Regions from separate parts of the Homo sapiens genome. Here regions 1, 3, 4, 5 and 6 are each linked to region 2. The links are contacts of gene promoters, found by promoter capture Hi-C in blood cells and fetal thymus (Javierre and others, 2016). All regions are on one chromosome and are shown on one strand. Each heading gives the region's core, a stretch centred on a gene start or on the middle of the fragment in contact. The rest is flanking DNA. Distances are from core to core; before and after follow the strand shown. Region 1 overlaps SENP7 (SUMO specific peptidase 7). Region 2 holds the start of TRMT10C (tRNA methyltransferase 10C, mitochondrial RNase P subunit). Region 3 overlaps SENP7 (SUMO specific peptidase 7). Region 4 overlaps SENP7 (SUMO specific peptidase 7). Region 5 overlaps SENP7 (SUMO specific peptidase 7). Region 6 overlaps SENP7 (SUMO specific peptidase 7).

Region 1 (4,436 bases), core at 11-2,510, 230 kb after region 2:
ACCTGCTATAACTCCAGCTTTCATCTGGAGGTACTGCTTCCTCTCTTTGCCCTCTACCCTACAGGTATAGCAGTTTCCTCCTCTGCTAATCTTTGCTGTCTCACTGTCCCCGTTTTTGGCTTTGTGTTTTTTTGTTTTTCTTTTTTTGTCAATGCTATAGCCAATTTCCTGCATTGAATTCTATCTGTTATATAGGGCTGTTTTTGTTTTCCTGGTTGGATCCCCAATGACAGACTATTTAATTAAACCTATGCTACATTATACGAAATACCCTATTTGTTTGCACAATTTAGCTGATTTTTGCCCAAGTATTTTTTTGGTTAATACTAAAACTGTGGAGCAGTGGCTAGGGATAGGCAAAAAGGAGGTATTTCTTAGACAGTAGAAACTTGGATAGTTGTTGCAACATGAGGCATTTCTCCCCTTTCCCCATACTTAACAATTTGTATGATAATCTATCTGAGTAGACTCATGATAAAGCTGAGTTATTGTTATTTTAAAAGTTAGTGTAAACATTTCTCTACTGCTTTACAATTTACAACTCCATTTATTGACATTATTTCAGTTTTTCCTATCATGACAGTACCTTTTGATAGGGCATATAAACTGTATCCCAATTTTTCATATGAGGAAGCAGTCTAATGAAGATTAATAAATTTTACTTAAGATGAACAGCTAGTGAGTGGCAGAACTAGTTGGTACTTAAATCTTTACCTTTTAACTTCTAGTCCAAAGTTTTTATTGTACTAGATTGCTTTAAAAAATGGCTATGAGAGTTTGTTTCATCTCGTTAAAATAACAGGAGTAATAAACAAGAGTTAGAAGAGGATTAATGGATAAACTGCTTGAATTTGATATATTGTTGGAGAAAGAGGGTAGGAATAGGGACACTAATTAATATTTATTGAGTGCCTGCTAGGAACTAAGACGGTGAACATAAAGTTATTTGATTCTACAGTATTATTGTCATTGTCTTTATGAATTGAAGCTTAAGGAAGTTATATGAGTTTTTCAAAGTTGGATATAGCTTTCCAGTTTCAAAGTTCAACTCTTTCTGTTGTTCATAGTGTTGTGATTATATAATTAATGGTCTAAATTGGGATGCTTGTGAGAATAATAGGAGGCTGTCTTAGTGGGTACACTAGACAACGAGTGCGTATACCAGGGCTTTTCTAGACAAACTGGGATGTATGATTAACTCCATTTTGAGTGTCTTTACAGGTTTGGAATTTGTCCTGATGGACAAGACCTGCGAGGATCAGTTAAGGAGAAAACTGCAATTTGAAAATATTTCTGATAATCAGGGCTAGGAGAGGGATATATGGAAGGGGGAGATTTATTAAATAAATTAGGTAACATTTCTGATGCCCTCCTGTTCTGTTTTATGTATACAGAATTTAATGATTGGTACCATGCACTTAATCTCATGTTTTATTTCAAGATTATTCAAAGTAGAGATTGTGAATTTTGTATACTCACCTTCAAACTAAGGAAATGAAAGTAGATAGATTCTGCTGTATTAGTAAGCTTTTCAAAAAACAGATATTGTGTACCTGATTATTATATACATAATAAAAATAAAGTTACGTGAGTGGCATCCTCTAGGGTAAGATGCATAAGATACTACACACACACACACATGTACACATGCACATGAATGTGTGAATACTAATGCTTGGTCTGTTAAGCATTCACACAATTTGATATATCAGATCAAGCATTAGTGTTTACACAAAGAATCCCTACAAATCAGTTTTTAAAAGTCATCAGAGCAGCAAGAGATATGAATTTTAATGGCCAATAAATCCACATCAAAAGGCTCTAACTACTAGTGTTGAGAAGCTACAGATTCCTTATCATGCTTTATGAGATCCTGAAAGATCTGGTTTCTTTCCATCTCCTTAAACTCATCTCATAATATTGTTTCCTCTCATTTACCATACTTAAGTTCAACCTACCTCATTTCCATTTTCAAATATGCTGACCGCTTTCCTATTTTCTGCCTGAAACAACTTATCCTGGCATTTAAAAAATTTGTTTCACAGCGTGATCTGTAATCATTTTATTCGTTTGTTTACGTCTTCATTTTCTGTTTCTCATTTGAAGCTACATGAAGTTAGGGACTTTATCTGTCTTATTTTCCACTCTATCCTCAGTACCTTGCTCGGTGCTTGGAACATATTAGGAACTCAAAATATGAGATGATAACAGTGCCTATTATTGATTACTGAGAGAACTGTTAGACATTTAGTTGAAGATTTTCTACACAGGAACTGAGAATAGGAGATTATGTTTGGCCCTCATATTCTCTCCTATCCTCCTTGCCTCATTCTATGTCTAATATATTCTCAATCAAATAAGGTTAGCATAATCAGGAAATCGACCAAATACCAATATAAAACCAGATGTCTATCCTTAAGATTTTCAAATAGAAAACAAATTAACAGACTATACACTAGTTGAAAGTAATTGTTTATACTGATTATAATGGTTGGGTCCTTTTGAAATGAGAAAATTCAATAAACGTGACTTTGATTTTTTTATGTGGTTAATCTTCCACATAGTGTCTAATTGCTGTCAAATCTTTTAGCTCATTCTGGATCCTATGTTACTCCTGATGTTTACCCATAGAGTTTTGGCTAGATATTATTCAAATGAACAAGATGGGGCAATGATTTCAGTTTCCTATATGACTTGATAAAAATTATATAAGAATGTAATGGTTTGCCTTTTTTTTTTCCTGCAATAAGAGTTCCATCCAAGGGACTGAGCCAGAAGTCACATACCACCTTTATCCCCCTGTTAAATGTCATTTTCTTCCTTCCTAAAACCTTTCTTTTGACAGTCAAACTTGGTTTTATATCCTTCTCTTTTAACTCCCCTGATTAGGTAAAGAAAAGAAACTAGTATTTGTGTGTATGCAAGCCAACCCTGTTCAAGGTGGCTGTCTCAGATGGTTTAATAAGGGGGTCCCCAACCCCTGGGCTTCAGACTGGTACCAGTCTGTGGCCTGTTAGGAGCCAGGCCACTCAGCAGGAGGTGAGCAGCAGTGAGCGAGCATTACTGCCTAAGCTCTGCCTCCTATCAGATCAGTGGCAGCGTTAGATACTCACAGGAGCGCGAACCCTGTTGTGAACAGTGCGTGCAAGGGATCTAGGTTGCGTGCTCCTTATGAGAATCTAACTAATGCCTGACGGTCTGAGGAGGAACAGTTTCATCTTGAAACCATCCCCCCTAACCTTGTCCCTGGAAAAATTGTCTTCCACAAAACCAGTCCCTGGTGCCAAAAAGGTTGGGGACTGCTGCATTACCATAATTCCTTTGTACCTCTTATGACACATTTTAGTTATTTGTTATAGTTTTTTCTGCCCATATTAGATTATGAATACTTCTAGGGCAGTGTAGGTGACTTTCATTATTTGTTTTTAGGAACCTAATAAATATTTGTTGAAGAAATAAAAGGAAAGATGGATGAGTGGTAGGTACATTTAACATCATCCTGTAGTTTCCTTGTGTATGAAAGGAAGGGAGATGAATTTTATTTTAAAGAATCTGAGAATAAAAGCCTCATTTTTCCTCCTCCATTAAGATTTTTAATTAAATTAAGTTAACTGATTAATTTATTTTTTAGAGATAGGGTCTTCCCTTGTTACTGAGGCCAGAGTGCAGTGGTGTGATCACAGCCTCAAACTCCTGAGATTAAGCAATCCCCCAAGTAGCTGGGACTGATTATTGGTGTGTGTCACCACCCTGGCTAATTTTCTTTATATTTTTAGTGACAGGAGTCTCGCTATGTTGCCCAGGCTAGTGTTGAACTCCTGATCTCAAGTGATCCTCCTACCTTAGCATCCTAAGTAGCTGGAATCACAGGCATGAGCCACCACACTCAGCCCATTGAGTTTTAAAACCTCCCTAATGACAGATATAACAGTTGGAGAATTCTGTTAAGGTTTAATGACAGTATTTTATATCATGCCCAGATGGAGCTAAGCAAAATAAGTAGATTTAACTGTGTTTATACTAAGTTGCACAGCCAGTTTTGGAATCTGAAAAGCATTTAATAAATTGCTGCCTTTATTCTGTCCATTTCATTATTGTTTATAGTTATTAAATTTAAGAATAACCAGGGGTTACTATAAGGAGATATATTTATAATGTGTTAAATATGATATATCTTAAAGAAGATGGTTAAACTAAATTTAAGATATTTCAATATATAAAAATGGCTCTTGAAGTCCCTATCTTAAATGAAAAAATTTTTATATATCAAATCTGTCTTTCATACTCTCAGAATGGCACAGAGAAGACATAAAAGAGTAAGAACATGGACTCGTCACATAAACATTTTTAATAAAGATTACATCTTTGTACCTGTAAATGAGTCGTAAGTATTTCAGATTATTTAAGAACATATTGGAAAGAATTCAGAAAAAAAT
Region 2 (4,332 bases), core at 380-2,879:
GCTTCAATGACCATGCATTAGAAAGACATCTCAAATGCAGGCCGGGTGCAGTGGCTCACTCCTGTAATCCCAGCACTTTGGAAGGCCGAGGAGGGAGGATCGCTTGAGGTCAGGAGTTTGAGACCAGCCTGACCAACATGGCGAAACCCTGTCTCTACTAAAAATACAAAAATTAGCCAGGTGTGGTGGCGCATGCCTGTAATCCCAGGTACTCGTGAGGCTGAAGTGGGGCGATTCTTCTACTTCCCAGGTACTCGTGAGGCTGATGTAGAAGAATCGCTTGAATAAGGGGGGCGGAAGTTGCAGTGAGCCGAGATTTTGCAACAAAATCTGTTGCAGTGAGCGACAGAGTAAGACTGTCTCAAAACAACAAAAACAAACAAAAAACACCTCAAACGCAACAAATCGAAATAACCCCTCTACCTTTGCTTCACAATCTGATCCTCCTTCAATGTTCTGTTTCAAGGGATATTGCTATCCATTGGTATTGTTCCCAACATATATTTCTAAGCTTATTGCGGCCAGGTCAGCAGCATCTCTAGCTATTCTTCACCTCACACTTCAAGTATTCCACCATTACTTTTCACAGCACTCTGGTGCCTATGACAGTACTTCTAACACTGCACTGTAATTGCCTGGTTATCTATTTGCCTCACTAGATGGTAAGGACTAACTAGTGTCCATGAGGACAAGGACTTTGTCTATAATGTTAACATTGAATCCAATGCTTGACAGTATTTGGCTCACAGTAATCACGCAAATATTTTTCTAATACCCTAGATCGATGCTTCCTTCATTAAAAAAAAAAAAAAGAAAAAAAAAGTTCAGCCTCCCTTTATTATTTTTTTTGAGACGGAGTCTCGCTCTGTCACTCCAGGCTGGAGTATAGTGGCGCGATCTCGGCGCAAGCTCCGCCTCCCAGGGTTCACGCCATTCTCCTGCCTCAGCCTCCCGAGTAGCTGGGACTACAGGCACCCGCCACCACGCCCGGCTATTTTGTATTTTTAGTACAGACGGGGTTTCACTGTGTTAGCCAGGATGGTCTCGGATCTCCTGACCTCGTGATCCGCCCACCTCGGCCTCTCATTGTGCTGGGATTACAGGCGTGAGCCACCGCGCCCGGCTCAGCCTCCCTTTAAAGAGAAAACAATTTACTTTAGAATCCCGGAAATATTTAACTGGGGTCCCCAGGCCCCAATCTAATAAACATTGATTTCAGAAGGAGTTTTAAAAGTTTTATTCTTGTAACTGGCAAGGACTTAGAATACCACAGAAATGAAAACCCCAATTGTAAAAAGCAATCAAGTACATCATTTCAGGAACCACTGATTTTGTTTCAGGTACTGTACTAGTTATAGTTTATTAAAATCACTGGGCTTCCTCTTACCCGTGGGCCTTCCGAACGCACATGCTCCACTAAGTGCATCTTGGAACGTCTCCGGCGTCCTCCCACCCCCAACACACACATTAGGCGAAAGAAGAAACTCGCTTACCAGGAGTGCAGAGATAGTGGTTCCCGCTGGCGCAAAGAACAGGGACCCTGGAGGACGAAGGACTCCGACGTACGGACGCCCAGGGATCCGCGCCGAAGCTAGCACGCAGCCTACCCAACAGTCTACACAGCCGACCAGAGCGGTCGCTGGGGCTCAGCCGGAAGTTCCGCCCTCTCCCTTCCGGCGCTGCTTTTTACGTCACAGCACGCAAAGAACGCTTTCTTGGCTAAAAGAAGCGCCTTAGAGGAGACGGCTGTCAGTAGGCAACTGGGTACTCGAAGACTACGCTCTCAGTTGTCACGGAGTTGTAGCTGTGTTGTGTTGTGTTTTCCTCCATATATCCTAAAAACTTCTTCTGGGCCGGGCCAGTTGGCTTACGCCTGTTATCCCAGTGCTTTGGGCGGCCGAGGCGGGCGGATCACTTGGGGTCAGGAGTTTGAGACCAGCCTGGCCAACATAGTGAAACCCCGTCTCTACTAAAAATACAAAAATTAGCCAGGTGTGGTGGCGCGCGCCTGTAATCCCAGTTGCTCGGGAGGCTGAGGCAGGAGAATCGCTTGAACCTGGGAGGCGGAGGTTGCGGTGAGCTGAGATCGCGCCACTGCACTCCAGCCTGGGCGACAGAGCAAGACTCTCTGTCTCAAAAAAAAAAAAAAAAAAAAAAAAAAACTGTTTCTAATCCTCTTTTCAACCTACTCTCTGTTTGGGCCCTGTATTTATAAACATTTGCTGACAGAGTACTAAAATAAAGTATGTTTTTTTCACACGTCTTCTTACTCAGCTTCAAACTCCTTGACGCTAGGACTTTAAACTCCTAATCTTTTTGACCAGTTTATCACCAGTACCTGGCACTATGCTTGGAACGTGATAAGCCACGGTAAGTTTCTGTCTCCTCCTAGCTCATTTGGAAAGTTTAATGTGAAATGAAATTAAAACACATTTGTAAATTGGTGGCCTTTGGGGCCAATTCAGCCTCCACATATATTTGTAACCAAACACAGAATGAACATATTCTGCAGCCATTCTACTCCTAGTAATATACCCAAAGAAATTGAAAGCAGAGACACAAACAGACACTTGTACTCTAATGTCATTGTAGCATTATTGATAATAACCAAAAGGTGGAAGCAACCCAAATATCCATGAACAGATGAATAGATTAAAAAATGTTGCATGTACATACAATGGAATATTATTCAGTCTTAAAAAGGAATGAAGTTCTGATACATGGTACAACATGGATAAACTTTGGAGGCATTATACACTGAGATAAGCCAGGCACAAAAGGACAAATATTGTATAAGTCCACCTATATGAAGTGCCTAGAATAGTCAAATCATAAAGAAAGAAAGTAGAATAGTGTTTACCAGGGGCTGGGGAAAGGGAAGAATGGGCAGTTACTGTTTAATAGGTATGAATTTTCAGTATGGGATGATGAAAAAGTTCTGGAGATGGATAGTAGTGATGGTTGTACAAGAACGTGAATGTACTTAATGCCATTGAACTGTACACTTGAAAATGACTAAAATGGAAATGTTTATATTGTATATAGTTTACTAAAATAAAAGAAGGTAGGCATAGTCTTTTCCAAATGATTTTAAAAAACGAGATCTTGTCTAAGAGACTGATTACTATCATGTTAGAAAGGTGAGGTGGTGATAGCAAAATAATCATGAGTTTACTCCCAAACATGGAAAAAAATCAAGAATAAATATCGTCTAGTAGTTATAACAAATAGCAGTGTAGAGGTTATTTTTTCTTGTTCCTGTTCTTTAAAGAGATACATCTGAAGTTTTTCCATTAATATTTTATGAAGGTTTTTGCTATATGATCTTTGTCAAGTAAAGGAAATTTCATTCTGTTAAGTTTACTAAGATTCTTTATGTGAAAAATCTTTGGAAGTGTTTCTATAAATATAGCAGAACATAATTTATTCAATATGTCTGGGATCTGACCTATTCTAGATTAAGAATATTTCCAGGTTTCAGACATCTTACCTCCAACAAAAAGCACAGTGATTTTCAAAATACGTTTTTTTGTTTTTTTTTTTTGAGACGGAGTCTCGCTCTTTCACCCAGGCCAGAGTGCAGTGGCGCGATCTCGGCTCATTGCAAGCTCCGCCTCCCGGGTTTACGCCATTCTCCTGCCTCAGCCCCCGAGTGGCTGGGACTACAGGCGCCCGCCACCGCGCCCGGCTAATTTTTTGTATTTTTAGTAGAGACAGGGTTTCACCGTGTTAGCCAGGATGGTCTCGATCTCCTGACCTCGTGATCCGCCCGCCTCGGACTCCCACAGTGCTGGGATTACAGGCGTGAGCCACCGCGCCCGGCCTCAAAATACATGTTTTGGCATAGAAAAATAGCTTGTAATATGGGATGTAAGGTATCAAAAAAATAAAAAATAAATTGTAGGCCAGGAGCAGTGGCTCATGCCTATAATCAGCATTTTGGGAGGCCAAGGCAGGCAGATTGCTTGGGCTCAAGAGTTCCAGACCAGCCTGGCCAACGTGGTGAAACCCTCTCTCTACAAAAAATACACAAAAAAAGAAAAGAAAAAGAAATAAATTTTAAAAGCAAGGAAATATATAAAAACCCATAAGACAATGTCACATAAACACTAGAATTGAAAAACTAGAAGGTCTGAATGCTCTCTCTTGGCTCATATTTCTTCTTGGAAACAATGGTTAGACCTAAATAAAGGCTGTTTTGTAGTCAAGGCACCCACTCTCCAGTTCCCCAGAGCTTATTCCACCACATGTTATCTTTTCTACACTGGTGCAAATGTCATTTGCCATGTATTTTGCCTGCACTGTTTATTATATAATAGAGAACGATTTCTC
Region 3 (4,217 bases), core at 1,183-3,682, 180 kb after region 2:
ATGTCATAAATTTTCTTCTGACTAGCAATTTGAAAAACACTGATACAAATAGTGCATATATCCTAAGTTCAACTCCTTTATGCTAGAAACATTAGTCAGTTTTGAATAAAATTACTAATAATGATACTCATTTGCACGGTTAACTCTTGAACATTTGCATTATATGGTTATCACTCTTTTCAAAATAATATTTCATTATTATCTATATGTAATTTATGTAAACATTTAAACTTTTTCCTAATTTGAACAATAATGCATATTTATATTAAGAGATATATAGAAAAGTATGAAATTGATATTACCCATAATCCATTCCTCAATAATAAGCATTGATAATATTTTGATATGCTTTCATCTAAATATTTTTCTGGATTAAATGATTATAATCATGAAAAATAGTGTTATTTTTATTCATTTCACACTATCCTCTTTTGATATTAATCTTTACTTTAGGCCTATGAGATAGATAGGAGAGCAGTTAATATTTCTATTTTATAAATGTGGAAACTTTTTGAGGTTCAAAGAGATTAAGTGGCAGAGGTAGAACTATAACACAGGTCTAATATATATGAGATGCATTTAAGTTAAAAAACATAATGTTAAAATAAACACCCAAATGTTCACCTTCTATTAAAAAATAGACTATTATCAGCATCACCGAAGCCTTCTGTGTTCCCCACTTTGCCCATTCTGTCCCATTCCCATGCATTCGCCTTAGAATTAACCACTTTTCTGAATTTTAAGTTTTATATAATTGTGAACTTTAGAAAAATGATTCAGGTTACTGAACAATATGTATTACATGGCATGCATTTTTTTTGCCTAACATTTTTGTGAGATTCATTCATGTTGATGCATAGAGCTAGAGATCATCCAGTTTTACTTATGTATTTATTGTATTAATATTAAAAATAGATCTACCTACTTTTTATTGATGGAGTTTGGATTGTATCCAGTTTTTTTTCTCTCATAAACAATGCTCCTTTGGACATTTTCATTTTATATGTGTTGCCAGTAAATAGTATGTATCTGGATACTTCTCTTTTTACATTCAGTCTACATTTATTTTTAACTATAAGGCATAGTCTGTTTATATTTTATACTACTATTTTTCTTTATGCTTTTTATTTGGTCTGCTTGACTTTTTTTCCTTTCTTGTATTTTTTTTTTTTTTAGAGATAGGTCTTGCTATGTTGCCCAGGCTGGAGTGCAGTGGCTATTTACAGGCATGATTATAGTGCACTACAGCCTTGAACTCCTGGCCTCAAGTCAGCCTTCGAAGTAGCACACTATAGGTGTGCACCACTGTGCCCCACCCATTCTTGTATTTTAAAAATTAGTTATGTTTTGTTTTGTGTGTGTGTGTGGGGGGGGGGGCGGTGGTTTGCTTTACGTTCTAGAAGATTTAGACTCTTTCTATTTTTAAATAGTTTTCTATAAATTATAATATACTTGATAGACCTATCAAAGTCCAAAGTTAATTAGTATCTGTGTTCTCATTTTGAATAATAGGGACTTTAATCTATTTTAAGTACATTCACATTATTGTACAACCATTACCACCATTCATTTTCAGAACTTTTTTCATTTTTACCAAACTGAAACTCTGTATCTATGAAACAGGAACTCCTCATTCCTCTCTCCCCCTAAACCCTGACAGCCACCATTCTACTTTCAGTTTCTATGATTTATTTCATGACCCTAAGTACCTTAAATAAGTGGAATCACAGTATTTGTCCTTTGCTAACTGACTTATCTCGCTTAGCATAGTGTCTTAAAAGTTCATCTATGTTGCAGCATGTGTCAGAATGTTCTTCCTTTTTAAGGCTGACTATATTCCATTTTATGTATCAACTAAATTTTGTTCTATTCATCTGTTGATAGATAGTGGTGTTGCTTCTACATTTTGGCTATTGTGTGTAATGCCATTATGAACATGGGTGTTCAGTGTGTGTTTGTATCTCTCCTTTAAGTTCTTTTGGGTATATATCCAGAAGTAGAAGTGCTGGATCATATGGCAATCTATTTTTAGCTTTTTGAGGAAACATCATACTATTATTCATAGTGGCTGCACCATGTTACATTGCCACCAGCAGTGCACAAGGGTTCCAGTTACTCCATATCTCGCCAATACTTGTTTTCGTTTTTTTGATAATAACCATCCTAATGCATGTGAGGTGGAATCTCATTGTGATTTTGATTTTCATTTTCCTAATGAATAGTGATATTGAACATCTTTTCGTGTTGTTGGCCATTTATATGTCTTCTTTAGAGAAATGTTTATTCAAGTACTTTGCCTGCTTTTGAATTGGATTTTTTTTGTAAGTTGTAGGATTTCTTTATATATTCTGGATACTGATCCCTTAATAGATATGGGATTTGCAAATATTTCGTCTCATTCTGTGGGTTGCCTTTTTACTCTGATGAAGTCTACGTAATCTGTTTCTTTAGTTGACTGTGCTTTTGTTGTCATATTCAGAAATGTTAACAAATCTAATGTGAAGATTTTCCCCTATGTTTTCTTCCAAGAATTTTCAAAATAGCTTTATGCCTTATGCTTAGGTCTCTGATCCATTTTGTGTTAATTATTGTATATGGTGTTAGGTAAGGGTACAGATTCATTGTTTTGCATGTGGCTATTCAGTTTTTCCAGCATCATTTGTTGAAAAGGCTGCCCTTTCCTCATTGAATGGTCTTGGTACCCTTGTTGAAAATCATTTGACCATGTATTTGAGGGTTTATTTCTGGGATCTCTATTCTGTTCTGTTGGTTTATGTGTCTGTTTTTATACTAGTACCACACTGTTTTGATTACCGTAGCTTTACAGAAAGTTTTGAAATCAGAGAGTATTAATCCTGCAACTTTGTACTTTATTTATTTATTGGTAGGTTTTTTTTCTCTGAACACTTAAAAGATTTCACTCCACAGTGTTCTTACTTGCATGGTTTCTGAGAAATGAGATACAATTCTTGTCTTTGTTTTTCTATAGTTAAGGGCTTATTTTTTTCTGGATTTTATTAACTGTTTTTAAATCTTTGATTTTTTTGCAGTTTAATATGATATGCCTAGGTGTTATTTTTTGGGCATTTATTCTCTTTGGTGTTCTCTGAACTTGCCAGTCTGTGATTTGGTGTCTGACATTAATTTGGGGAAATTCTCATGCATTATTGCTTTGCATTTTTCCTCTGTTTCTTTACCTCTTTCTTCTTATGATATTCCCATTATGCCTATGCTACACCTATTGTAGTTGTCCCACATTTCTTCAATATTCTGTTACGGGTTTTTTTAGTCTTTTTTTCTCTTTGCTTTCCTGTGTTGGAATTTTCTATTTCTATATACTCAAGTTCAGAGATTCTTTCCTTTTCCATATCCTGTCTACTAGTGAGCCCATCCAAGGCATTGTTCATTTCTGTTACAGTGTTTTGATCTTTAGTATTTCTTTTTCATTCTTCATTACACTTTCTCTCTGCTAACATTGCCCATAAGTGCTTATATGCTGTATACTTTATCTGTTGATCATATTTGTTTTAAATTCCTAATCTGATAATTCAACATCTCTGACATGTCTGGTTCTGGTTCTGATACTTGTTGTCAAACTGTGGTTTTTTTTCTTTTAGAGTGGCTTTTAATTTTCTTTTTGTTTTTTGTTTTTTTTTGGATAGTTGGACATGACGTACTAGATAAAAGCAACTACTGTAAATAGACCTTTAGGAATGTGGTGGTAAGATGTGAGAGGAAGAAAAGCATTCTGTAGTCCTGTTAGGTTTCAGTCTTTTAACCCATTTATGCTTAGTGTTCTATTACTGGAACGCTAGGCATGTGGAAGTTATTTATATCCTACTGCTAAAGGTTATCACCAAGCTGTGATTGCAAAAATTCAAAAAATTGCAACCTCAGGCGTTAATGAGCCTTTGTCCTTGGCCTGTTAACTTTACAAGTGCTTCTCATTCTCTTCTGAATGCTTTGGTGCAACAGCATACCTGGAATATAATGAAGTTAGATATTTCCCTTCTCCCACATGGAAAGCTAGATGGTCTTGGAATTGTGTATTTTCCTTGCTTTTCCTCACACAGAATGCTAGACGGAGCTAGAGTTGGGTATTTTTTATTTCCCCTGCTTGATTAGGCTCTAAAAAATAACTCATAGTTTAGGCTCTGGTGAAATAGTTTTTCTTGAGGGCAGGCCTTGTTAAGAACAGAATGCTCTGATATATTTGA
Region 4 (4,114 bases), core at 790-3,289, 200 kb after region 2:
GCATGTCTGGGGTGATTTTACAATTCTTTTTCTTTAAGGAATTTTATTCATTTTTCAGGATTTTCTCCCCTATTTTACTTTATTATTTTAAATTCAGGTTTACCCAGTTATTTCTGTTGAGTTCTTTTTGATGGCAAAAAGTTGGATAACCTAAATATATGAGAGTGATGATTAGCCGGGGGAAGGAAAATCCAATATAAATATTAAACAATGGGATTTCTATTAATTAATATATTAATTATATTATTACACAGTCAGGTGGACATGTTATGCTCAAAAACCAAGATCAAGCAAAAAACCACAAACAAATTAGTAAAGGAACAATATTACAAACACATATAATCTTGCCTATTTAGAGACAACTGCCATTCACTGTATAGTATATATCGTTGCATATTCTTCATACATATATAGATACATTAAAACAAAGGGATATTACATAATATGTACTATTTTGTAACTTACCATAATTTCATTAATTTAATTCCTCTACTTATTTTGGGATATTTGGGTTGTCTTTAAAAATTTTTAATTGTTGGTCATTTCAAATTGTCCCAATATTTTACTATTACAAACAGTAGGGAACTGCAAATATTCAGTAAGCATTGTAAAGTGGTCCTAAAAATTAATTGTCAGAAGTCCTGGCCAGGGCCATCAGGCAAGAGAAAGAAAGAAAGTACATTCAAATTGGAGGAGAGGAAGTCAAACTATCCCTGTTTGCAGATGATATGATTCTATGTCTGGATTCTATATATATATTTATATATATTATATATAAATTTTCTAGATATAGGATCTCAGCCCAAAAGCTCTTTCAGCTGATAAACAACTTCAGCAAAGTTTTAGGACACAAAATCAGTGTACAAAAATCACTAGCATTAATGGCTTTTCCATATTCTTTATATGTGGACAATTTTTCTCAAGGGTAATAGCTTTCCTGTGAAATAAGGTGTAAGCACAGATTAAAAGTTTTGCCACATTCTTTATACTTGTAGGAGTTTTGCCAGTATGAATTATCTTACCTACAATCAAGTGTGGCAACCATATAAAGGCTTTGTCACGTTTTATACATTTCTAGGGTTTCACACTAGTATAACTTTTTTTTTTAATGTATTGCAAAGTTGGAGGTGTTTGTACAAGTACTGTCACATCTTTCAGGTTTGTAGAGTTCCTTTTCAGCATGAATTATCGTTTGTCTCTTAAGAATTGAGAACTTATGACTAGGCATGGTGGCTCATGCCTGTAATCCCAGCACTTTAGGAGACTGAGGCAAGTGGATCATCTGAGGTCAGGAGTTTGAGACTAGCACGGCCAACAAGGTGAAACCCCCTCTCTACTAAAAACACAAAAATTAGCCAGGCATAGTGGTGGGCACCTGCAATCCCAGCTACTTGGGAGGCCGAGGCAGGAGAATGGCTTGAACCCAGGAGGCGGAGGTTGCAGTGAGGTGAAATCATGCCATTGCCCTCCAACCTGGGTGATAAGAGCAAAACTCTGTCTCAAAAAAAGAAGAAAAAAAAAGAATTGAGAATTTGTTGTAGGCTTTGCCACGTTCTTTACACTTGTAGAGTTTCTGTCCAGTATGAATTATGTGTAATAAGGGTTGAGAACTTCCTTAAAAAGCTTTGTCACATTCTTTATATTTGTAGGGTTTATGTTCCATATAAATTCTCATATTTACTAAGAGTTGAGGGCTGGTTAAAGGTTTTCCCACATTCATCACATTTATAGGGTTTCTCTCCAGTATAAATTATCTTATGCTTATTAAGGGTTGAGGAACATTTAAAAGATTTGCCACATTATTGACTCTGTAGGTTTCCTGTGCAATATGAATTATTTTATGTTTATTAAGGGCTGAGGACCAGTTAAAAGCTTTGCCACATTCTTCACATTTGTAAGGTTTCTCTCTAGTATGAGTTCTCTTATGTTTAGTGAGGCTTGACTAAACCAGGTGAAGGTTTTGCCACATTGATCACATTTGTAGGGTATATCTCCAGTATGAATTATCTTATGTTTAGTAGGGTTTGAGGAACAGTTAAAATTTTGCCACATTCTTCACATTTGTAGAGTTTCTATGAATTATCTCATGTTTAATAAGGGTTGAGGATGAAATGAAGGCTTTGCCACATTTAACACACTTGTATGGTTTCTCTCCAATAAGAATTTTCTTATGTGAAAAAAGGGGTGAGGGGTGGTTAAAAGCTTTGCCACGTTCTCTACATCTGTAGGGTTTCTCTCCAGTGTGAATTATCTTATGTGTAGTAAGGTTAGAGGCAGCTTAAAGGCTTTGCCAGATTCTTCACATCTGTAGCGTTTCTCTCCAGTATGAACTTTCTTATGTGTAGTAAGGGTTGAGGACTGGTTAAAAGCTTTGCCTCATTCTTTACATTTAAAAGTTTTTTTTCCAGTATGTCTTATGTCTGTTTGACTTTGAAAATTTATGAGAGACTTTCACATATTTATCACATTGAAATATTTTTCTCTGGGTAGTTGTCAAACATTGGTTAAGTCCATTATAACCGCTTTTGTGCACCTTACACTCATCCACACTTTTACAGCTTTTTTTAAACTGTAAATTGTCATGTCCACATTTTTCATATCTTCTCAGTATCACTTTTTGGAAAGAATCTTTTATGCTCTGCTCTGGCCAAAGATCTTGGGCAAAATGAGAACATATAACTGGGGGTCTGGCAATCATCTTATGTCTCTTCGTAGTCAAAGGTTTTTTCCCTTGTTCCAGACAGGTCATCAGGTCTGGCTTAGAGACAACAATACCAAGGAAGAACAGGTTTCTGTAGTTCTCTAACATCACATCCTTATATAAATTCCACTGTGCAGTGTCCAGGCAATGCCACTCCTCGCGGTGGCTCACGCCTGTAATCTCAGCACTTTGGGAGGCTGAGGTAGGTGGATCACCTGAGGTCAGGAGTGCGAGACCAGCCTGACCAACATGGTGAAACCTTGTCTCTACTGAGAATGCAAAAATTGACTGGGCATGGTGGGGCATGCCTGTTGTCCCACCTACTTGGGAGGCTGAGGCAGGAGAATTGCTTGAACCCAGGAGGCGGAGGTTGCAGTGAGCCGAGATTGCGCCATTGCACTCCAGCCTGGGTGACACAGCGAAACTCTGTCTCAAAAAAAAAAAGAATGTTCATAGTTAATAAAAGCATTAAAAGTGCAATTACTGTCAAAAATTCTTTCAGAAAATATAAGCCTTTAAAGTGAAGAAGAGTATTTATTCTGAAGACAACCGTTACAAATATAAAGGGGGTTGTAGTACCTTTACTTGTATCACAGATCTTATTGCACACATTTTGTACTAGAGGAAAACCCTCAAGCAATTGCTCAAGCTTTTTTCAGCATCAGGGAATTTATATTGGAGAAGAGTCCTGCAAATGTAATGAATTTGGAAACACTTTTTTTTTTCAAAAATTACTGCTTAGAAAACACCAGAGTTTATATGAAAATATATTTTTGCCGATGCAGTAAATATGAAAAAATATTTAATTCAAAATTGATTCTATGTAAATATCAAAGAATTTACAGTAGAATAAGGTACTGACACTTCAGACATTACACGAAATCAGAGTGTTGAGTATAAAAACTAATCTACAACTAAAGTTGTTAAATTATTTGTATATAACTTTAAAGGGAGTAGATTTTTTGAAGTATTGTAATTACATTGAAAATGTACTTGTTTCCTTGAAAAAATTTTTTTGAAAAGTGAATAATGATGTAATACAGCTTTCAAATTACTTTATGCTGTTATTTTATTCCTATTGTATTCACATGGGAAAGCATATGATCAATTGTTGCTGCATCAGAGATATTAGAAATTCTTTTTTATTAGTTGGGCATTATTTATGACCTTTTCTATAAATGAATAAGGAGATTAAAATGTGAGATGCATGATGAAAATGTAAGTGGAGAGGCTCTTTGTAGTTAACTTACATTAAGTAACGTATAAGGTAGGTGTTCAGAGTAATACTTTTCAACATTATAGTGAGAGGAAGGAATGATTAATTATAGTTAAAAGTATATTCAAATAAATTACTATATTATTTTACTAATTGTACTTTTATGTAATAAAATGCAGTACATTAAAAAAAAATCA
Region 5 (4,370 bases), core at 1,435-3,934, 140 kb after region 2:
TTTTCATTTTTGCTGTGAAATATAATGTAATTAACAAAAAATGACTAAAAGGTAAACAGTTCAATGAATTATTCATTAAATTTAATCTATTTTTAATAAGGTAGATTTTAACCACCACTGAGGTACAAAACAGAAAACTGCCCCAGAAGTTCTCAACCCCTGCAAATGATAACCCTTTAAAGCAGCAGTCCCCAACCTTTTTGGCACCAGGGACTGGTTTCATGGAAGCCAATTTTTCCACGGATGGGGTTGAGAGTGGGGTGGGTTGGTGTTGTGGGGAGTGGTTTAGGCATGAAACTGTTCCACCTCAGATCATCAGGCATTAGATTCTCATAAGGAGTGCACAAGTTAGATCCCTCGCATGTGAAGTTCACAATAGGGTTCGTGCTCCTATGCGAATCTAATGCTGCTGCTGATCTGACAGGAGGCAGAGCTCAGGCGGTAATGCTCGCTCACCCACCGTTCACCTCCTGCTGTGTGGCCCAGTTCCTAACAGACCACAGACTGGTACAAGGCAGTCTGGGGGCTGGGGACCCCTGCTTTAACGATAACCACTCACCTAACTTTCAAAGTAATTACTTTCTTAGTTTTGTTGGATAGTATTGTTACCTAAGTATATATCCCTAAATACTAAATTTAGGTTTTATTTTGCCTGGTTTGAATGTTGTTCTTTACTCTTAAGTTTCTCTTCTGGTATACAGAGAAATCTTATGACACTTAAATGTTGTAGATGTTTAGAATTTTTTCACCTTACTAGTTTGGGGGGAAAAAGATTACTGACTTCTGTTGCCGGATATTTTTAGTCAGACAAATTATAATAAAGTCAAATGTGAAATAAGTATTTTCCCGGAGAAGCCAAATTGTCCGTCTCATTTAGAGCCTCACTATTAGAATAATCAGTAAAATTACCAATGATTTGTTATTTTCCAATATAAATTCTTATTTGGTCTGAGTGAATAGAAAAATGGCTTTTTCCAACATTGAATAGTCTCATATTTGAAATTATTAAAATTACCATTGAGATAATAATTTCCTCAATAATTTAGCAAATACCTAAGTCATATAGTTTTTCCATTAGACTTAATTACATTTTATCCTTAAAATAAATTTCCTTAAAGTTTTGTTTGCATTTTTATTTGGTCATTTAGAATTTTAAATTGTACAGTTGTAAAATGTATAAATAATAGACTGGTAGTCTTTAAACATTTTGGCACATTTGCCGTCTCTCGGTGTCTCTTTATGCATGTATATAGATGGGCATCACATATATACATATATACATGCACATATACATACATTTTTTGGGGAACCATTTGAGAGTAAGTTGCAGGCATCATGGTATTTTATCTTCAGATACTTCAGCTTGCTTTTCCTAAGAACAATAACATTCTCTTACATAACAATTATAATATACTATCAAGAAAATTAACAGTAATTTCATATCATCATCTGCTATAAAGTCCACAATCAGAATTTCCCGAGTATTCCCAAAATGTCTTTTATTTATTTATTTTTAAATCTATTTGGCCAAAACTGCAGTTACTTTTGTACCTACCTAATAGAATCAAGTTCAGGTTCATGCATTGTATTTGGTTATTATACCCCATTAGTCTCTTAATCTAGAAGAGTTCCCACCTGCTCTGCCCTTTCCCTTTTAACCATCACATTGAGTTTTGAGGAGTCCAGACCAGTTGTTCTGTAGAATGCCTCACAGTCTATATTTTTATTATTTTATTGGTCTTGCCCATATGATTAGGTCCAGGTTACATTTTTGGCAGGAATATTTCATACCTGATGTCATGTACTTCTTACTGCACATATCAGGGGGTAACATAATTTCTGGTTGTTTCACTCTTAGTACTCCTATGTTTGATCACTTGCATAAGATGGTGCCTGCCAGATCTGTTCATTGTAAAGACACCTTTTCTTCTTTGCAATTAATAATCATCTGTGAACTCAATTATCTGTTTGCAGGAAAAAAGGATATTTGTGGCATTATAAATGTGTTAATCTCACAGGGATTTCTTAACTGTAAGACAACGTGTGTTTCTTTAGTAAGCTTGTGTTCCCCCTCTCTACAAGGATTATTTGAAAACTTTTTTCAAACCTATGTTCCTTTATCTTTCCTATCACTTTTTTTTTTTGAGACGGAGTCTCGCTCTGTCGCCCAGGCTGGAGTGCAGTGGCGCAATCTCGGCTTACTGCAAGCTCCGCCTCCTGGGTTCACGCCATTCTCTTGCCTCAGCCTCCTGAGTAGCTGGGACTACAGGTGCCCGCCACCATGCCCGGCTAATTTTTTGTATTTTTTAGTAGAGACGGGGTTTCACCATGTTAGCCAGGATGGTCTCGATCTCCTCACCTCGTGATCCACCTGCCTTGGCCTCCCAAAGTGCTGGGATTACAGGCGTGAGCCACAGCGCCTGGCCTCCTATCACTTTTAAGAGAAGGTCTTGGTTGGAATGCCTCTTCTCCTGTCATAAACCAGTGTAGTGTGAAGCAGTTAAGAGTGCTGGCAAGAAATTTGAGAGTGTGTGGTTCTGAATCGCATTTTCACTACTCACTCGTTTTACTTAGATATTAATCAGCCTATCTTGGTCTCCTCAGCTGCATGAGAAGAATAATTTGTAAGCCCCTCATGGAGTGGTTGTGAGGATTAAATGAAATAAATCATTGTAAAATGCTTAGCACAGTGCCTGGTATATAGTACATGTTCAATAAATATTAGCACTTAATGCAATTTCTTGGGAAACTTACTGTGTTAATTATCCTGCCTTCTGTGTCTTTAACCCTTACGTGCTTCCCATAAGCATTTAAACTTACACAAATCTTTCCTATCTTTAACTAATCAACCAGTAACTGACTAAAAACCCTTTCCTGCTTCTCATGTCTATTTTCAGGTCTTGTCTTATTTTCCACTTTCACAACCATATTTCTCAACTACTTTCATTTGCTATATCCCTTTGCTCCTTTCCCTTTGCTGATCCCACTGTATTCTGGTTTCTGCTCCCACCATTCTTCTAAACTACCTCTGATAAAGTCATCATCTCCGTAAATTAATTTTTATTCCTCATTATTCCTAGCACTTCCATTTTATTCTTCATAAACATCAAAATGATCTTTTAAAAGTGTAGCTCTGATCTCAGTGTTTCCTAATTAAGACTAGTGGATTTCCATTGTTGTTGACATAAAGTCTCACATCCTTAATATGGTTTGCTAAGTCCTGCCTAACTGCCCATTCTTAGACACATTACCTCTTTATTCTAAGTACATGAGTCAGGTAAGTCCTTTAATTTCTTTGAAGAAGCTTTACTCAAAACATTTGCATTTTGTCCTGTTTTTTGGACCTTTCTCCATTTTTTACTTGTTTCCTTTGGATAGTGCCTGTCCTTCTTTGAGACTTCAGCTTCAAGGTCATATTCTCAGAAACTTGGCTCAGAAGAAGTGCAACATCTGTATTTCTTCTTCATAGCACATATTAGAATTCTAATTAAATAATGAATTGGTTTATTCTCTGTAATGTACACCCCATGAAGGCAAAAACTCAACTATTTTGTTTGTAGCTGAAACTCCAGATTATACTAGCATCGTTGTTTTGCTGGAAGATGTTCAGTAAGTGCTTGTAGAATGAATTATTATTGATCCATAGAGATGTCATTTATTTTTTAATAATTTTAAAACTAATAGCTTAATTTTTTTTTGTGTGTGTGCAACATGTTTGGAGTTTTCAGTGTTCTATGGAAGTACCCTGGGAACTTGTACCCTCTTCCCACTAGATGGTTTGGGGATATACACTCAAATGGCTGCTGCAAACAAGTGGTTTTTTTTTTTGAGAGTTCCCGTTTTATCTTGAAAATATGTGAACATATTGCTGTTTCTTAATATTCTTGTGTTTGTTAAGCAAACAAACAAAAAGTGCCTAAAACTGTTTCATAGGTAGTAAAATAGACACTCTTCTGATTAAACATTTCCCAGTACTTTCAGCCATTCCTCACTTGACATTGTTTTAAATGCACTTGGTAGCCTGTTCACACCACTGCAGAAACTATATTCCATAGTTTTTGGAATTCCAGAACTAAACATAGTTATTCAAATATTCAGCATAAAGATGTATTGAATGAGAAGATGGGTAAAACATGATGGGCAAAAGTGTTGCTGGAACTGCTTGCATTTGTCAGTCTTTTTTTTTTTTTGAAATTGGTATAGGTACAGTAAGGTAAATTTTTTAAGTTGACCTATTTTAGAAATAAGATAAAATTAAATCTGTATCTTAAGACTGTATAGCCTTAAGAATGTAAGTGATGCAGTAGTGGACCCTTAGTTTTAATAATGTTTTCTGAATCAACAAATGCTAAAACAAAAACACATTTTTA
Region 6 (3,815 bases), core at 221-2,720, 170 kb after region 2:
TGCCTGCTTCAGCCTCCCAAAGGGCTGGCATTACAGGCGTGAGCCACTGCCCCCGGCCTTGTCCGTTATTTTTATATTCAGACTCTAGAATTTTAACTAGTACTTAGTGCTCAGTAAATAGTTTTTGAATGAATGGCTGAACACATTCCTTAAAAAAATGGTTTGAGATTTTCCATTAACAAATGGAAAAGCTGAATTCCATTGACAAATGTAGCTTGTTGTGCCAATAAGAGAAATGCAGATCTGAAGTTGCCTTTGTTTTAAGCTCTAGGAGAGGATTGTGTGTGGACTGGAAATAAGAAAAAATCTGTGGCACAAAGCTAGGGATGGTCAGTTAGTACATTCTGTTAGATTTATAAACTTCCATTTGCTACAAGCTTCTGAAGCTTCTCTTTTTATTTTCTGTGTTCAGCCTGTAGGATACTTTTTATATAGATGAAAAGTTGATTATCCTAATTTTTTTCCCCCCAAACTATCCAAAGCTAACTTCTGGTTTGTATTTCTATTGTAAGCCTAATTACATTAAATAGTACTTATAGTTGCCTTTTTAAATATCTACAACAAATTTTATTATTTAAAACTCTTTATTTTCTATGAATTCTTGAATTTTTCTTCTTTTGGAAAATATTTTCACCTAGGTTCTACTTAGTGAATCAGTAACGACAATTTTAACTTTATATTTTATTAGGTCTCTTGCTAAGTTTTCCCCCCAAAATGAGAATTTCAGTGGCATTATTCAGTTACTAAATTTAATGTGTAATTGGGGAAATTAGTAATGTATCTATCAAGTGGCTCATGCCTATGTATCTATCAAGTGGCTCATGCCTATAATCCTAGCCCTTTGGGAGGCTGAGGCACGAGGATCACTTGAGGCGAGGAGTTCAAGACCAGCCTAGGAGGCATAGTGAGATCTTGTTTCTGCTAAAAATGAAAAAAATGAGCCAGATGTGATGGTGCATGCTTGTAGTCTCAGCTACTTGGGAGGCTGAGGTGGGAGGATCGCTTGAGCCCAGGAATTCAAGATTGCAGTGAGCTATGATAGCCACTGCATCCTAGCCTGGGTGACAGGGCAAGACTCTGTCTCAAAAACAACAGCCGGGTATGGTGGCTCACGCCTGTAATCCCAGCACTTTGGGAGGCTGAGGCGGGTGGATCATCTGAGGTCAGGAGTTCGAGGCCAGCCTGACCAACATGGTGAAACCTTGTCTCTACCGAAAATACAAAATTAGCTGGGCGTGGTGGCAGGGGCCTATAATCCCAACCACTTGGGAGGCTGAGGCAGGAGAATTGCTTGAACCCAGGAGGTGGAGGTTGCAGTGAGCTGAGACCGCACCATTGCACTCCAGCCTGGGCAACAAGAGCAAAATTTCATCTCAAAAAACACACAAAAAACAATAACAACAACAACAAAAGTACCTATCCACGTTGCAGTATAGCTGTTTATTTCCACCTCCTCTGCTATACCATGAGCTCCTTGAGAAGAAGAGGTATTGTGTCTTATTTGCATTTATACCTAGGACTTAGCTCAATGTATACTAAATTTTTTGCTCTTGGGTTAATGCTTATGTCATTTAATGTAAAATTCAGTTTTCTGAGTTGTAAACAGAGAAGTAATTTTGAATGCCCTATGTACCTCACAAAAATGTTATTTTTCTTTTCTTTTAAATCTCACTTCTGAGAATTCTTTGAGCCCATAAAATAAATGAAAATATTAAGGAAGGTACTTTCTGTTGGAGAAAAAGTTGTGATGATTGAGCTTTAAGTCAAATGATGAGCAAAAAAAAAAGAAAAAGATTAAAAGAAAAAACTTATGATGTGCCATTGCCCATGGAACTCAGATGATGTCAGTGCACATTTATGTTGTTAAGAAAAATCACACTTTTGAAGATTGTATGAAACAATCAAATTGTAATCTGTACGCTTCTGCCTTTATGCCATTCTGGGGCTAAGGTTTAATAATATTAATAGGTATAATATTTCTGGTCATTCCCCAAAACTATTCAGTGGGAACACTAGCTCTCCTTTAAATCCTTTCTAAATAGATGTGGAATTTCCAGGTGGTTTTGATGTGGACCTTGAAAATTCATTCCCTTAGTGACAATTTTATTTGATTCATGTATTTGGAATAAGCATGAACTTTGGAGCCAGACATCTGGATTAAGATATTAGCTATACTGCTAATACACTGACTTACCTTGGACAGGTTTCTTACCGTGTCTTTAAAGCAGGGATAATAATACACACCTTATTGGGTTAGTGTGCAGATATAAGGAGATGATCCATGTAAAGTCCCAAGTATAATGCCAGGAAGTTAGTAGGTGATTATTAAAAGTTAGTCATTATTTTTGTGTCTCTCTTATTGGTGCTGATATCAGAAGTATTATAAAAGGATATTACTATAGTTGATGTTACTGAAATCTTCTACAATGAGGGTGCCAACATGTGTTCCTGAGTCCACTTATCGTCATCACCATTGCTGCCAAAGCAATTGTTATGGCTTTGTTAGCCTCCCCATTTAATTTAGCAAATACTGAACTCCTTAAACCAAGCTTTAGTTCTTTCTTCCCTTAAGATGAATTTGTTAATCTTAACCCTAAGATCATATGGAATTAAAAAAGAGCCCAAATAGCCAAAGCAGTCCTGAGTGAAAAGAATAAAACTGGAGGCATTACACTACCTGACTTCAAAATATATTACAAGGCTATAGTAACCAAAACAGCATGGTATAAAAACAGACCCATAGGCCAACGGAACAGAACAGAGAACCTATAAATAAATCCATATATTTACAGCCAGCTGATTTTCAGCAAAAGGTGCCAAGAACATACACTGGGGAAAGGACACCCTCTTCAGTAGTGATCCTGGGAAAATATGCAGAAGAGTGAAACTAGACCCCTGTCTCTCACCACATATAAAAAATCAACCCAAGATAAATTAAATACTTTAAACGTAAGACCTGAAACTATAAAACTGCTGGAAGAAAACATAGGGGACATGCTTGTGGACATTGGTCTAGGCAAAGATTTTTTGACTTAGACCTCACACAGGCAACAACAAAAAATACATAAATGAGACTATATTAAGCTGAATGGCTTCTGCACAGCTAAGGAGCCAACCCATCAACAGAGTAAAGAGACAACTTCCAGAATGGGAGAAAATGTTTGTAAACTATTCATCCAAGAAGGGACTGATACCCAGAATATATGAGGAATCCAAACAACTGAACAGTAAAAATAAACAAATAATCCCACTAAAAAGTGTGCAAGTGACATAAAAAGACATTTCTCAAAAAAAGACATACAAATGACAAACAGGTATGTGAACAGTGCCCAGCATTGCTAAGTGTAAGGGAAAAGCAAATCAAAACTACAATGAGATATCATCTTACCTTAGCTAGAATGGCGGTTAGAAAGACAAAGAATAGCAGATGTTGGCAAGGATGTGGAGAAGAGGGAACTCTCATACACTGTTGGTGGGAATGTAAATTGGTGTAACTATTATGGAAAGCAGTATGGAGATTTCTCAGAAAACTAAAATAGATTAAAAAAAAGAAACAAAAAAGAAAAAAACAAATTTTAAAAAGAAGTCCCAGCTACTCGGGAGGCTGAGGCAGGAGAATGGCGTGAACCTGGGAGGCGGAGCTTACAGTGGGCCGAGATTGCGCCACTGCACTCCAGCCTGGGCGACAGAGCCAGACTCCGTCTCAAAAAAAAAAAAAATTTTTAAAAAGAAACATAAAAATAGAACCACTGTACAATCCAGTAGTCCTGCTACTAGTATTTATCTAAAGGAAAGGAAGTCAATATACCAAAGAG

The links. The method cuts DNA at HindIII sites, captures the fragments that hold promoters and counts their contacts. A CHiCAGO score of 5 or more calls a contact.
Region 1: a contact is called between a fragment that was not itself captured here and the fragment with the promoter of TRMT10C in region 2, in 3 of 17 cell types (total CD4 T cells, naive CD4 T cells and non-activated CD4 T cells). The highest score is 5.5, in total CD4 T cells.
Region 3: a contact is called between a fragment that was not itself captured here and the fragment with the promoter of TRMT10C in region 2, in 6 of 17 cell types (non-activated CD4 T cells, naive CD4 T cells, total CD4 T cells and 3 more). The highest score is 12.7, in non-activated CD4 T cells.
Region 4: a contact is called between a fragment that was not itself captured here and the fragment with the promoter of TRMT10C in region 2, in 1 of 17 cell types (non-activated CD4 T cells). The highest score is 5.6, in non-activated CD4 T cells.
Region 5: a contact is called between a fragment that was not itself captured here and the fragment with the promoter of TRMT10C in region 2, in 6 of 17 cell types (non-activated CD4 T cells, total CD8 T cells, activated CD4 T cells and 3 more). The highest score is 6.9, in non-activated CD4 T cells.
Region 6: a contact is called between a fragment that was not itself captured here and the fragment with the promoter of TRMT10C in region 2, in 6 of 17 cell types (non-activated CD4 T cells, naive CD4 T cells, total CD4 T cells and 3 more). The highest score is 12.5, in non-activated CD4 T cells.

The regions. Positions count from the first base shown.
Region 1 is chr3:101,332,718-101,337,153 of GRCh38, reverse strand. It overlaps SENP7 (SUMO specific peptidase 7), which reads left to right. Exons shown (of 24, transcript NM_020654.5): 18 at 4,292-4,384. Among named protein-coding and RNA genes, the nearest start is that of IMPG2, 14 kb to the right of the region's middle. The HindIII fragment of the contact is 539 bases long and covers 991-1,529 here.
Region 2 is chr3:101,559,165-101,563,496 of GRCh38, reverse strand. It overlaps TRMT10C (tRNA methyltransferase 10C, mitochondrial RNase P subunit), which reads right to left and starts at 1,629. Exons shown (of 2, transcript NM_017819.4): 1 at 1,494-1,629. RefSeq lists enhancers at 1,494-1,563, 1,574-1,643. The HindIII fragment of the contact is 12,384 bases long and covers 514-4,332 here.
Region 3 is chr3:101,377,596-101,381,812 of GRCh38, reverse strand. The region is part of intron 6 of SENP7 (SUMO specific peptidase 7); the gene reads left to right. Among named protein-coding and RNA genes, the nearest start is that of IMPG2, 59 kb to the right of the region's middle. The HindIII fragment of the contact is 5,077 bases long and covers 1-4,217 here.
Region 4 is chr3:101,356,039-101,360,152 of GRCh38, reverse strand. All of the region lies in intron 11 of SENP7 (SUMO specific peptidase 7), which reads left to right. It also overlaps the pseudogene ZNF90P1. Among named protein-coding and RNA genes, the nearest start is that of IMPG2, 38 kb to the right of the region's middle. The HindIII fragment of the contact is 330 bases long and covers 1,875-2,204 here.
Region 5 is chr3:101,418,142-101,422,511 of GRCh38, reverse strand. The region is part of intron 4 of SENP7 (SUMO specific peptidase 7); the gene reads left to right. Among named protein-coding and RNA genes, the nearest start is that of SENP7, 93 kb to the left of the region's middle. The HindIII fragment of the contact is 1,245 bases long and covers 2,062-3,306 here.
Region 6 is chr3:101,394,421-101,398,235 of GRCh38, reverse strand. All of the region lies in intron 6 of SENP7 (SUMO specific peptidase 7), which reads left to right. Among named protein-coding and RNA genes, the nearest start is that of IMPG2, 76 kb to the right of the region's middle. The HindIII fragment of the contact is 2,163 bases long and covers 389-2,551 here.